2 separate regions of the Homo sapiens genome follow, and region 1 is linked to region 2. The links are contacts of gene promoters, found by promoter capture Hi-C in human tissues and cell types (Jung and others, 2019). All regions are on one chromosome and are shown on one strand. The core of a region is centred on a gene start or on the middle of the fragment in contact, and the rest is flanking DNA. Distances in the headings are between cores, read along the strand shown.

Region 1 (5,829 bases), core at 2,681-5,180, 1.2 Mb before region 2:
CAAGTCAACGTGAGCTCCCTGTGCCCTCTGTACCCAGGCAGGGAGGTGCTGGCCTGGCAGCTGGAGGCCACTGGGCCAGGGTGCGCGGGGAGAGACTTGGCAACGTCTCTTTCCCCTGGTTTCTTAATTCATGGGAGAATGAGTGAGGTTCAGTCCAGCGAGACAGGATGGAGAGGCACAGGGATTCGGGGTACTGCGAGCTGGAAGGTTTTCTTGAGGAGGGGGCTTAACTCCGTGGTTCTCCCTCCCTGGGGGACTTGCCCCCACTCCTACAATATCTGGAGAGGTTTGGCTGTCACACCTGGGAGGGGAGGGTGTTCTAGTGCTTGGGACGCTGGGAAGCTCCTGTGTTGCACTGGATGATGTTCATTCCATGTCAGTTTCTGGCCCCGATATGAGTAGGGGGAGCGCAGAGTACGGTGACCCCAACTGCTTTTTGTCCTGGGTTGGTACATTGGTGAGGGACTCTGGCTAAGGCTCTTCATTTCCCCTGGAGCAGGGGCAGAAGTGAGGAGGGGAGGGTCGGAGTCTCTGGAGGCTTTTGCCGTCCTGCTGGGTCTTTTAGTTGCTACTTTGAGTCAGGTGTGATGAATCTTGGGACCAAGTCGGTGGGGCAGGATGTCTGGTCAGGAGGGCTCTGAGGATCTGGCTATGGGGCTGGTACCAGGAGTTCCCTGTCATGGGGGTGGCATGTCTCGGACAGAGGCAAAGGACAAGGGTGGGTTGGCTCTTGTGGGAGCCTCTCCAGGGATGAGTCATGGAGGGAGGAGCAGCCTGGCTTCTGACAGCATCCCAGACTCCCTGGGCCAGGTGTGTGGCTCCTGTCCCCCTGACGAGTCCCTCCCTCCATCAGTGCCATCTCCCTCTTCTACGAGCTCTCGGAGAATGACTTGAACTTCATCAAGCAGAGCAAGGACGGTGCCGGCTTCCTCATCAACCTCATTGACTCCCCCGGGCATGTCGACTTCTCCTCGGAGGTGACTGCTGCCCTCCGAGTCACCGATGGCGCATTGGTGGTGGTGGACTGCGTGTCAGGTAAGCAGTGGGTCCCCCTGAGGCACGGCCTGGAACCGGGGGCCATCCTTGCTTGAGGATGACAGCGCCGCCCTGTCCCCCGTGTCCCCAGGCGTGTGCGTGCAGACGGAGACAGTGCTGCGGCAGGCCATTGCCGAGCGCATCAAGCCTGTGCTGATGATGAACAAGATGGACCGCGCCCTGCTGGAGCTGCAGCTGGAGCCCGAGGAGCTCTACCAGACTTTCCAGCGCATCGTGGAGAACGTGAACGTCATCATCTCCACCTACGGCGAGGGCGAGAGCGGCCCCATGGGCAACATCATGGTACGGCCCTCCCTAGCTGGGTGGTGGGCTTGCCGCAGCGGGATCTGCAGGAGCCGGTGGGGAGTGGAGTTGAGCTGAGGGGGACTGGAAGTGTGTTTTTGCCAGGAATGTTGGGTGACAGAGAAGGGGGCTGGAATGTTTTCATCCGACTTGACCCAGCCCTTGATCTTTGGGCAGCTGGAAGAGACGAGCTCAGGGAACGCTGCCCTGGGTGGTGGAGGGGCTGGCCCCCCTATTCGTGATGACTGATCATTTCTTCACTTTGACCAGATGTCTACTGAAGAAAGCCTGCGTCTGAGGCCCATGCCCAAGGCGCCCAGCCCGTAGCTTCAGGCTCTGCGCAGGGGCCCTCACGGCTGCTTCTCGTTTCTCACACTTCCAGATCGATCCTGTCCTCGGTACCGTGGGCTTTGGGTCTGGCCTCCACGGGTGGGCCTTCACCCTGAAGCAGTTTGCCGAGATGTATGTGGCCAAGTTCGCCGCCAAGGGGGAGGGCCAGTTGGGGCCTGCCGAGCGGGCCAAGAAAGTAGAGGACATGATGAAGAAGCTGTGGGGTGACAGGTGAGCCCCGCGGGATATGGTGGGGGATTCCTGACACCTGGGGGTAGTGGCAGCGACGTAGGGGCGTGGTGTGCTATTCACAGCGTGGCTCAAGCCCACCAGGTCTTGCCCAAGCATGTCCCCTTGGCGACCACCCTCCCCAAGTCATCCCCTGGAGACCCTAACTTGATTTGGCTTGGCCTCTCCTTGCCAGGTACTTTGACCCAGCCAACGGCAAGTTCAGCAAGTCAGCCACCAGCCCCGAAGGGAAGAAGCTGCCACGCACCTTCTGCCAGCTGATCCTGGACCCCATCTTCAAGGTGAGTGAGGGCTGCGCCAGGCACCCCGCCGATGCGACTATTGGCCCTCGGCCCTGTGGGCTCCGGCCGGTAGCCTGTCGGCTGACTGGGCCCGTCTCCTTGTGGGGCAGATGCGAGATGGGAGGAGGCACAGCTCCTAACTGAGGTGGAGTCAGGGCTCCTCTCTTAAGATCTGGACTGCATAGCCAGAGCCTTGGGACCTCTCCTGCATTGAGGGGGTTGAATAACTTGTGGCTTTGGCGGTTCAGTGCTTGTAAGTCAGAACTTGGGTCCTTGTCTGAGTCAGAGTGGGCTTTTTCCTCTGCTCCACCACGAGGTTTCCTCCAGCTCCCGATCCGCTCAGCTGGCTGGGCCCGTGGTAGGCAGGCCAGGCCTGCTCCTGCTCCCGTGCTGCGTCCCCCTGCGCTGACCTGAGTCTTCCAAGCAGGAAGCAGTGCCAGGCTTCCTCCTGCTGTTCCCAAATGGGCTTTCTTGTTTCTTGGTGGGGAATGTAGGTGTTTGATGCGATCATGAATTTCAAGAAAGAGGAGACAGCAAAACTGATAGAGAAACTGGACATCAAACTGGACAGCGAGGACAAGGACAAAGAAGGCAAACCCCTGCTGAAGGTGCGGCCTGGGCCCAGCCCTCGGGGTGGAGGGAACACAGGCTGCTGTTTCCGGATGCTCTGACAGCCCAGGCCTGGGGGCTGAAGTCCTCAGCTGGGCAGGGACAGCTGCTGCCCCTTTCGCTTTAGACTCTGGGTGCTGCTGGAGACACATCCCAGCAGCCAGCCCCATCCGGGACAGGTGTGGGTGAGGGCCTTGGCAGGAGTGTGCATGGCCTTTGCCGCCTTCCAGAAGGGACTGTGCTTTGGAGAACGTTAGTCCTGACTTTGGCTTCCTTGGCTTCAAGAGAGGAAGCGTGTACGGGGTGGGGCCATCCTGGGCTCCCCAGGTGTCTCATGCACCGCTCTCTGCCCCCGCAGGCTGTGATGCGCCGCTGGCTGCCTGCCGGAGACGCCTTGTTGCAGATGATCACCATCCACCTGCCCTCCCCTGTGACGGCCCAGAAGTACCGCTGCGAGCTCCTGTACGAGGGGCCCCCGGACGACGAGGCTGCCATGGGTACGTGGTCCCGGTGGCCGGGCCCTGAGATGCAGCCGGATGACTTCCTGTTGCCCAAGGTTGTGGGTTGCAGGGTTCCAGAAGGCTGAGCTGCACTGGAATAAAGCTTGCGGGTTTTCTCTGTCCCTCAGGCATTAAAAGCTGTGACCCCAAAGGCCCTCTTATGATGTATATTTCCAAAATGGTGCCAACCTCCGACAAAGGTCGGTTCTACGCCTTTGGACGAGTCTTCTCGGGGCTGGTCTCCACTGGCCTGAAGGTCAGGATCATGGGGCCCAACTATACCCCTGGGAAGAAGGAGGACCTCTACCTGAAGCCAATCCAGAGGTGAGCAGCTGGGTGATGTGCAGGCCCCTTGGCACTGTTGCGGGCCCTGCCCTGCTCCAAGTCTTGGGCTCCTCAGTCGGGAGCTAGAAGTAAGGAGCATAGAAGGAATATAGGGTGATACTTGTGCCAGCCACAACTTTTGTTCTTAGCCCAGTGAGGGCATTTCTGGAGAAGCTCCAAGCCCCAGGGCACAGCACACCCCTGCTCATCTGTGTCCCTGGGCACAGGTGGGTGGCGGCCGTCGACCCATACCCAGGGAGGAGGGCAGTGATTCTGAAGAGGATGTTTCCTGACAGCCCCGACGCAGCAGTCAGGGCCTTGTGGAAGCCACCAGTCTGCCCTGGGACCTGGCAGGAGGGCCACCAACTCCGGGAGGGACCTGCCCTGGCCCTCCAGGGTCCAGCACAACCATCCCTGCGGCCTGCTGCCGCCTTCTGCTTCTTCCAGAACAATCTTGATGATGGGCCGCTACGTGGAGCCCATCGAGGATGTGCCTTGTGGGAACATTGTGGGCCTCGTGGGCGTGGACCAGTTCCTGGTGAAGACGGGCACCATCACCACCTTCGAGCACGCGCACAACATGCGGGTGATGAAGTTCAGCGTCAGCCCTGTTGTCAGAGTGGCCGTGGAGGCCAAGAACCCGGCTGACCTGCCCAAGCTGGTGGAGGGGCTGAAGCGGCTGGCCAAGTCCGACCCCATGGTGCAGGTGGGCACGGAGTGCACCTGCTGGGAGCAGACACCCTGAGGGGGGACGGCTTGTGTCCTGAGTTGTGGCTGTGTGGGTTGCTGTGGTTGGTGGATTGGGGTGACTGGTCATGAAAGGAGGGGTTCTTGGCTGTGGCTGTAAATGGAGACTCCTGCCCAGGCAGCCACCACCCTCTCCTAGGCTGCTCTGCGCGTGTTCACTGTAGCTTGTGGGACTTAACATTTCTTCAGGAGTTTGTGCTGGTCCCAGTTTCCCAGCACCTTCCCTGAAATCTTGTTCTGGCGGGGTCCCTAGCTAAAGGGAAGCTGGGAGCCTGGTCCCGCCTGTTCCGAGCCGCCTACCCCTTTGGTGCTGACCCGCATCCCTTTCAGTGCATCATCGAGGAGTCGGGAGAGCATATCATCGCGGGCGCCGGCGAGCTGCACCTGGAGATCTGCCTGAAGGACCTGGAGGAGGACCACGCCTGCATCCCCATCAAGGTGAGGCGCCAGTGACCAGCCTTCCCCACGCCCCACCCCGGACACCTGCCCTCTGCTTTAAAGCTGAGCTGAGCTAGGCTCTGCAGACGCCTAGACTTGATCTCGGTCTTGGTCTCAGCTTCTTAAGTTCCTCAAGTTTCTTCTTTGCAGTCTTCCACAGGCATGTGGGGCTGTTTTTGTTGTTGTTGTTGTTTTTTTTGAGATAGTCTCGCTGTGTCATCCAGGCTGGAGTGCAGTGGCGTGATCTTGGCTCGCTAGAACCTCCACCTCCCGGGTTCAAGCGATTCTCTTGCCTCACTCAGCTTCCTGAGTAACTGGGACTACAGGCGCGTGCTACCACGCCCGGCTAATTTTTTTTTGTATTTTTAGTAGAGGCGGGGTTTCACTGTGTTAGTAAGTCAAGATGGTCTCGATCTCCTGACCTCGTGATCCCCCTGCCTCGGCCTCCCAAAGTGCTGGGATTACAGGTGTGAGCCACCATGCCTGGCCCAGGGCTATTTTTTTTTTTTTTTTTTTTTTTTTTTTGAGACAAGAGTCTTGCTCTGTTGCTTAGGCTGGAGTGCAATGGCGTGATCTTGGCTCACTGCAAGCTCTGCTTCCCAGGTTCACGCCATTCTCCTGCCTCAGCCTCCTGTAGCTGGGACTTCAGGCGCCTGCCATCATGCCCGGCTAATTTTTTGCATTTTTAGTAGAGACGGGGTTTCACCGTGTTAGCCAGGATGGTCTGGATCTCCTGACCTCGTGATCCACCCGCCTCGGCCTCCCAAAGTGCTGGGATTACAGGCGTGAGCCACCACGCCCGGCCTCCGGGGCAGTTTTTGAGTTACATCCTGCTGTCTTCTGTCCACAAACAACACAAATGCTCTGGAGGGGTTGGGACAGGCCTGCTCCAGACCTCGTTTCTTCCCTGTTAATGCTTAAAATTCCACAAGCCCGTGGTTTCTGCGCCGGAGAGCTCAGTGGAGCCCCTGCTCCTTGTCCTTGTCTGGAGTGAGATGCGCTTGGCACTGCAA
Region 2 (6,307 bases), core at 3,047-5,546:
CATAGCTCACTGTGGCCTTGATCTCCTGGGCTCAAGCAATCCTCCCTCCTCCCAGTAGCTGGGGTGACAGGCATGTGTCACCACACCTGGGTGATTAATTTATTTTTTATTTTTTATTTTTTTCTTTTGAAGAGACAGGGTTTCACTATGTTGCTCAGGCTGGTCTTGAACTCCAGGGCTCAAGTTATCCTCTTGCCTCAGCCTCCCAAAGTACTGGGATTATAGGTGTGAGCCACCGTGCCTGGCCCCTTGTTTTATTTTGTATTTTCATGATTATCTTCATGGATTGAGACTCTTTTCTTATATTTATTCACCTCTTATATTGGTTCCCCTGTGAATTGCTCATTCATCACCCTTCCTATTTTTATTTTAAGATGTTTATTTTCTATTTTCTATCAAGGGCTCTGTCTCATATAGTATCAACATTTTTCTCCCAGTCTGTCACTTGTCTATTAAGCCCATTCATGGTGTTTTTTACTATGGAAGATTTTTGAAATACTGAAGTCAGTCAATTTGTCAGTATTTTTTTTTTATAGAGATAGGGTCTCATCATCTTGCCCAGGCTTGTCTCCAACTCCTGGGCTCAAGAGATCCTCCTACCTCAGCCTCCCAAAGTGCTGGGATTATAGGTATGCACCACTGTGCTGCTTTTATGTTATTTTATATTTTATTAGTATTTTTTTTCTGTTGCGCTCTGAAGACATCTGCTCCTACATGGCTTCTGGTGCACAGGAGGTTTTCAAAAACACGTACTGAATGAATCAAAGCCCAAAGCTTACGTAGCTCTTTCCCTGAGCAGGCTGATTCTCCAAACAATTATGAATAAATATCGCATGCTATGAATTCCCCTTAGGAAGGAGTCGTCCTGTGGCGTCTACCTGGTGTGCTTATGTTACAAGCCATCTTTTTCTTGTCGTGAGTTATGGAAAGCAGAAACAGAGTCAGATCACTCTGCATCTAATAATAAAAATAGCTACCAGAAACAGTGTGTTCCACATGATGACATCAGCGCCACGCAGGCAGAAAATGGCATTAAATGCTAAGAACTTGTAGATGTCTCATTTATAGCCTCTGTGAAACTGAACTCTGTCTTTTGACGCTTTCAATCTCTGTGCCTCCTCCAGTCTTTCCTATTTTAGTGAGCACCAGAATCCATCGGATGGCTCAAAGCAGAAAACCAGAAGTCACCCCCAACACCTCCTTCTCCTGCAACCCACACAGACAAACCAGTGCTAAGTCCTGTCAATTCACCCTCCAAAATATTTCTCAAATTCACCCACTGTCCTTTCTCCTGTCAATGCCCTCAGCTAAACTACCGTCAAGTCTTTTCTTAGAAATAGAGATAGGGTCTCACTATGTTGCCCAGGCTGGTCTCGAACTCCTGGGCTCAAGCGATCTTCCTGCAATGGCTTCCCAATGTGCTAGGATTACAGGTGTGCGCCAAGGCACCCAGCCCAACTCTTGCCCAGAGGGCTCTGAAGTAGTCTCCCTGCTTCCATTCTTGCTTCTCTATAATTCAGCCTTTCTTTACACACGAGTCAAAATAATCTTAAGAATTAAAATTAGATGACAACCTTCACCTACTTAAAATCCTTCAATGAATCACACTGTAATTACGGTAAAATCCAAGTTCCATAGCACGGTCTATGGGACTGTCCCTAATCTCCCATCTCCCTACTGCTCACGAACATTCAGCCAGGCTGGCTTTCCAACTCCTCAAATGCAGCAAGCCCTTCTCCATCTTTTTGTCAACTATCCTCTCTTCTCTCCCCACTTCTCAGTACTTTTTTTTCTTTTTTTTTTTTTTTTTTGAGACGGAGTCTTGCTCTGTCGCCCAGGCTGGAGTGCAGTGGCATGATCTCGGTTCACTGCGACCTCCACCTCACAGGTTCAAGCGATTCTCCTACCTCAGCCTCCCGAGTAGCTGGGATTACAGGCGCCCACCACCACGCCCTGCTAATTTTTATATTTTTGGTACAGACAGGGTTTCACCATGTTGGCCAGGCTGGTCTTGAACTCCTGACCTCAAGTGATCCACCCACCTCAGCCTCCCAAAGTGCTGGGATTATAGGTGTGAGCCACCACACCTGGCCTTCTCAGTACATTTGACTTGGCTAATTCCTGCACAGAAGTCTCTCTCATTCTTTCTTCACAGAACTTAGTACAACCTATAGTTTTTCTAGTATGTATGTGTATTAGTTACCTACTGCCATATGACAAATTTTCCCCCAAACTTAGTGCCAGCAGGCATTGTGGCTCATGCCTGTAATCTCAGCACTTTGGGAGGCTGAGGTGGGAGGGTTTCCTGAATCCAGGAGTTCAAGACTGGCCTGTGTGACATTAGGTAAAAAATTAGCTGGGCATGGTGGCACATGCTCCCAGCTACTCGGGAGGCTGAGGTGGGAGGACTGCTTGAGCCCAGGAGGTCATGGCTGCAGTGAGCTGTGATTGCACCACTGCACTCCAGCCTGGGTGATGGGGCAGGACCCTGTCTCAAAATACAAGCAAACAAACACAAAACTAAGTGGCTAGAACAGCATGTGTTATCTCAGTTTCTGTGGGTGAGGAATTCAGATGCAGTTCATATGGGTCTTCTGTTTTCAGGGTCTTTGTTTTTCTTTCTTTCTTCTTCTTCTTCTTCTTTTTTTTTCTTTTGAGACAGGGTCTCACTCTGTTGCCCAGGCTGGAGTGTAATGGTAATGATTTCAGCTCGCTGTCACCTCTGCCTCCTGGGTCCAAGTGATTCTGATGCCTCAGCCTCCTTAGTAGCTGGGACTACAGGTGCCCGCCACCATGCCTGGCTAATTTTGGTATTTTTAGTAGAGATGGGGTTTTGCCGTGTTGGCCAGGCTAGTCTCAAACTCCTGACTTTAAGTGACCTGCCTACCTCGGCCTTCCAAAGTGCTGGGATTATAGGCATGAGCTACCACATGCAGCCCTGTTTTAGGGTGTTTCAAAGGCTGCAATTGAAGTGAAGCAGTCATCCAAAGGCTCAACTGGGGCAGGACCCTCTTCCATGATCACGTTCATGGCTGTTGGTAGCATTTGGTTCCTTATGGACGCTTGTGCTGAGGGTCTCATTGCCTTGCTGACTGTTGGCTGGAGGACACCCTCAGTTCCTTTCCCTCTGGATCTCTCCAGCATCTTAGCTTGCTTTGTCAAGACACGTAGGCTGAGAAGGCGAGAGACAGGCTCTGCTGGCAAAACAGAAGTCACAATCTCTCATAGCCTAATCGCAGAATGACATCCCATTCATTTGCCATTTTCTATTTGTTAGAATCAAGTCATCAGGCCAAGCGCAGTGGCTCATGCCTGTAATCCCAGCACTTTGGGAGGCCAAGGTAAGAGGATCACCTGAGGTCAGGAGTTCAAGACCAGCCTGGCCAACATGGTGAAACCCCGTCTCTACTAAAAACACAAAAATTAGCCGGCATAGTGGCACACGCCTATAATCCCAGCTACTCGGGAGGCTGAGGCAGGAGAATCGCTTGAACACGGGAGTCGGAAGTTGCAGTGAGCCAAGATCGCGCCATTGCACTCCAGCCTGAGTGACAAGAGCGAGACTCTGTCTCAAAAAAAACCTTTTTTTTTTTTTTAGAGATGGGGTCTCACTATGCTGCCCAGGCTGGCCTTGAACTCCTGGACTCAAGCGATCCTCCCGCCTCGGTCTCTTAAAGTGCTGAGATTACAAGTGTGAGCCACTGCGCCCTGCCAAGATTTGGTTTTTAACTTACGCGTTACCTCCTATACTTATTTTTTCATGGTTTGAACATGTAACATCTACTTTCTTAGCAATTTTGCAGTATGCAATGCATTGTTACGAGCTGTAGCCACCATGATGTACAGTCGATCTCTTGGACTTACTCCTCCTGCCTATCAACAGAGATTTGTTGAAGGGATGAATCTGCTTCTTCAGCCGTCGGTAAGGGGATCAGCAGCGAGGACGCTGAGAGAGGAGCCGCCTCCGTTGGAAATCCCTTCCCATCCACCTCCAAGCCTCTTTCCAAGCGGGATTCAGCACCAGGCGCCCCTGGACAGCTCTGGAAACCCAACCCTGCCGGAACCGTTCCTCGCCAATCCGGGTTTCCCGCCGGGGCCGCTTGGTGGCTGCGCCCGCCGCTCAGCGGGAGGAAACCCCTTTCCTGTGCCGGTAGGAGAGGTGGAGTCGCATATGAGTGGCAGGTTTCGCAGCCAATAGTATGGAAAGTTCTGCCAGCGGGTCTCGGGGAGGCCAATGGGCAGGGGCGTGGGCGGGGCGTGGACCAGCCGCGCCGAGCGGGGCCTCTCCGGGCCGCGTCTGTGGGGTCGAGACTGCGCGGCCGTTGGGCGTGCAGCGGCGCCAGTCGGCGGACGAGGGGCCCCCGGGAGGTAGGTGCGGGCAGAGAGAGGACCTGGGGCGGCGGGGCGGGGCGGCGCTGAGCGGCCGGGGGTCTGTTGGACTCTACCCGCACGTTAGCCGAGGCCCGTCTCCGGTGCCCGGTAGCGCGAGGCACACAGAAGGCGCTCAATAAGTGCTGATTGAATGAATGAGCCCGTGCCCTCCTCATCCCGGCCCGAGCAGCCTCCGGTTTGAGAGCGTGCAGGCCACCCTCACCTTCACTGTACAGACTGAGGTATCCAGATGCCGGACAGGTCTTTATTGGGCGCCTACTGTGTGCCTGGGTGGCTCTGCGCTGGGTGCAGCTGGCCCTGAGCAAGACAGACAGCCTGGTCCCGCCCAGCTCACCGCCGGGGGGGAGGGACGACTTTAAATGACTTAAAATAATGTAATTCCTAGCTCCCTCTGTAGCACAAAATAAAAGAAAATAACACCAGGGAAGGGGGCGGGGAGAGCTCTGAGTGGAGACATCTGAGCAGTGACCCGAAGACCTGAATGCAGTGAGGTAGCGGGGCCATGAGGCGCTTGGGGCTGATGGTGGGGGAGAAAACCCAGTTGGGGAAAACTCAAGGACAGGGGAGGAGCTGAGATTCCTCCTAAGAACGGTGACATTTTGGGGTCCAGGGTGAAACCGACTTCACTTTGGCCCATTGCATCAGGTAAAATGCGGCCCTTATCAGTGGCCACACGCTTCCCCTCGTCCATGTGTTCAGCCAGCGGTTTTTGAGTATCTGTTCTGCAGCAGGCCTTCCGGCGGGTACAGGGATATGGTTTAGGGCAGGAGTCAGCCAGGGGCAGAGAGGGAGGCCCTTTTTTTTTTTTTTTTTTTTTTTTTGAGACGGAGTCTTGCTCTGCAGCCCAGGCTGGAGTACAATGGCGCGATCTCGGCTCACTGCAAGCTCCACCTCCTGGGTTGAAGCAATTCTCCTGCCTCAGCCTCCCGAGTAACTGGGATTACAGGCACGTACCACCATGCCCAGCTAATTTTTTTTTTTTTTGAGACAGAGTCTTACTCTGTCACCCAGGCTGGAGTGCAATGGCTTGATCTTGGCTCACTGCAACCTCCACCTCCTGGGTTCAAGTGATTCTCCTGCCTCAGCCTCCCAAGTAGCTGGGATTACAGGTGCCCACTACCACACCCAGCTAATTTTTGTATTTTTAGTAGAGACAGTGTTTCACTGTGTTGGCCAGGCTGGTCTTGAACTCTCGACCTCAGGTGCTGGTCTCGAACTCTCGACCTCAGGTGATCTGCCCACCTCAGCCTCCCAAAGTGCTGAGATTACAGGTGTGAGCCACCACTCCCAACCGAGGGAGGCCCTTTTGAGGGGTCCTGGATGCAGAGAAGCAAGAAAGAAGAAGGAGGCCTCGCTGGAAGGTCAGGGGAAAGAGAGCAGTGTTCCAGGTGGAGAGAGGAGAACCCATGCAGAGGTCCTGAGGCACGAGCAAGCTTGGCACAGAAAGGACCAGTGAGGGCCGAGGCGAGGCAGGAGCTTGTCATGCAGAGCTTCAGCCTCAGGGTACAGAGTTTAGACTTTATTTCGGGGCATGGGGAAGCCATGGACCACCACCATCCAATAGCATGTTCTGCAGTGATGAGAGTGTTCCCTTTGCTGTCAAATACGGTAACCACAGAAGTCAAGTAGGCTTGTGTGACTACTGAGCGCTTGAAATATGGCCAGGGAGACTGAGGAGCGGAATTTTGTATTTTATTTAGTTTTTTTTTTTTTTTTTTTTTGAGATGGAGTTTTGCTCTTGTTGCCCAGCCTGGAGTGCGGTGGTGCCATCTTGGCTCACTGCAACCTCTGCCTCCTGGGTTCAAGCGATTCTCTTGCCTCAGCCTCCAGAGTAGCTGGGATTACAGGTGCCTGCCACCACGGCCGGCTAATTTTTGTATTTTTGGTAGAGACGGCGTTTCACCATGTTGTCCAG

The links. Contacts are between HindIII fragments. The study calls those that stand out against the background at their distance.
Region 1: a fragment that was not itself captured here is called in contact with the fragment with the promoter of SLC39A3 in region 2 in 1 of the 25 tissues and cell types used here (aorta).

The regions. Positions count from the first base shown.
Region 1 is chr19:3,978,316-3,984,144 of GRCh38, reverse strand. It overlaps EEF2 (eukaryotic translation elongation factor 2), which reads left to right. Exons shown (of 15, transcript NM_001961.4): 2 at 1-9; 3 at 854-1,035; 4 at 1,127-1,338; 5 at 1,721-1,899; 6 at 2,093-2,198; 7 at 2,693-2,806; 8 at 3,166-3,304; 9 at 3,436-3,631; 10 at 4,079-4,337; 11 at 4,709-4,816. SNORD37 (small nucleolar RNA, C/D box 37) reads left to right here and starts at 1,573; the gene lies at 1,573-1,638. RefSeq lists enhancers at 1-116, 1,821-2,672. The HindIII fragment of the contact is 5,039 bases long and covers 1,411-5,829 here.
Region 2 is chr19:2,738,006-2,744,312 of GRCh38, reverse strand. It overlaps SLC39A3 (solute carrier family 39 member 3), which reads left to right and starts at 4,296. Exons shown (of 3, transcript NM_144564.5): 1 at 4,296-4,368. RefSeq lists enhancers at 4,015-4,064, 4,765-4,814 and silencers at 4,125-4,524, 4,933-5,200. The HindIII fragment of the contact is 11,347 bases long and covers 1-6,307 here.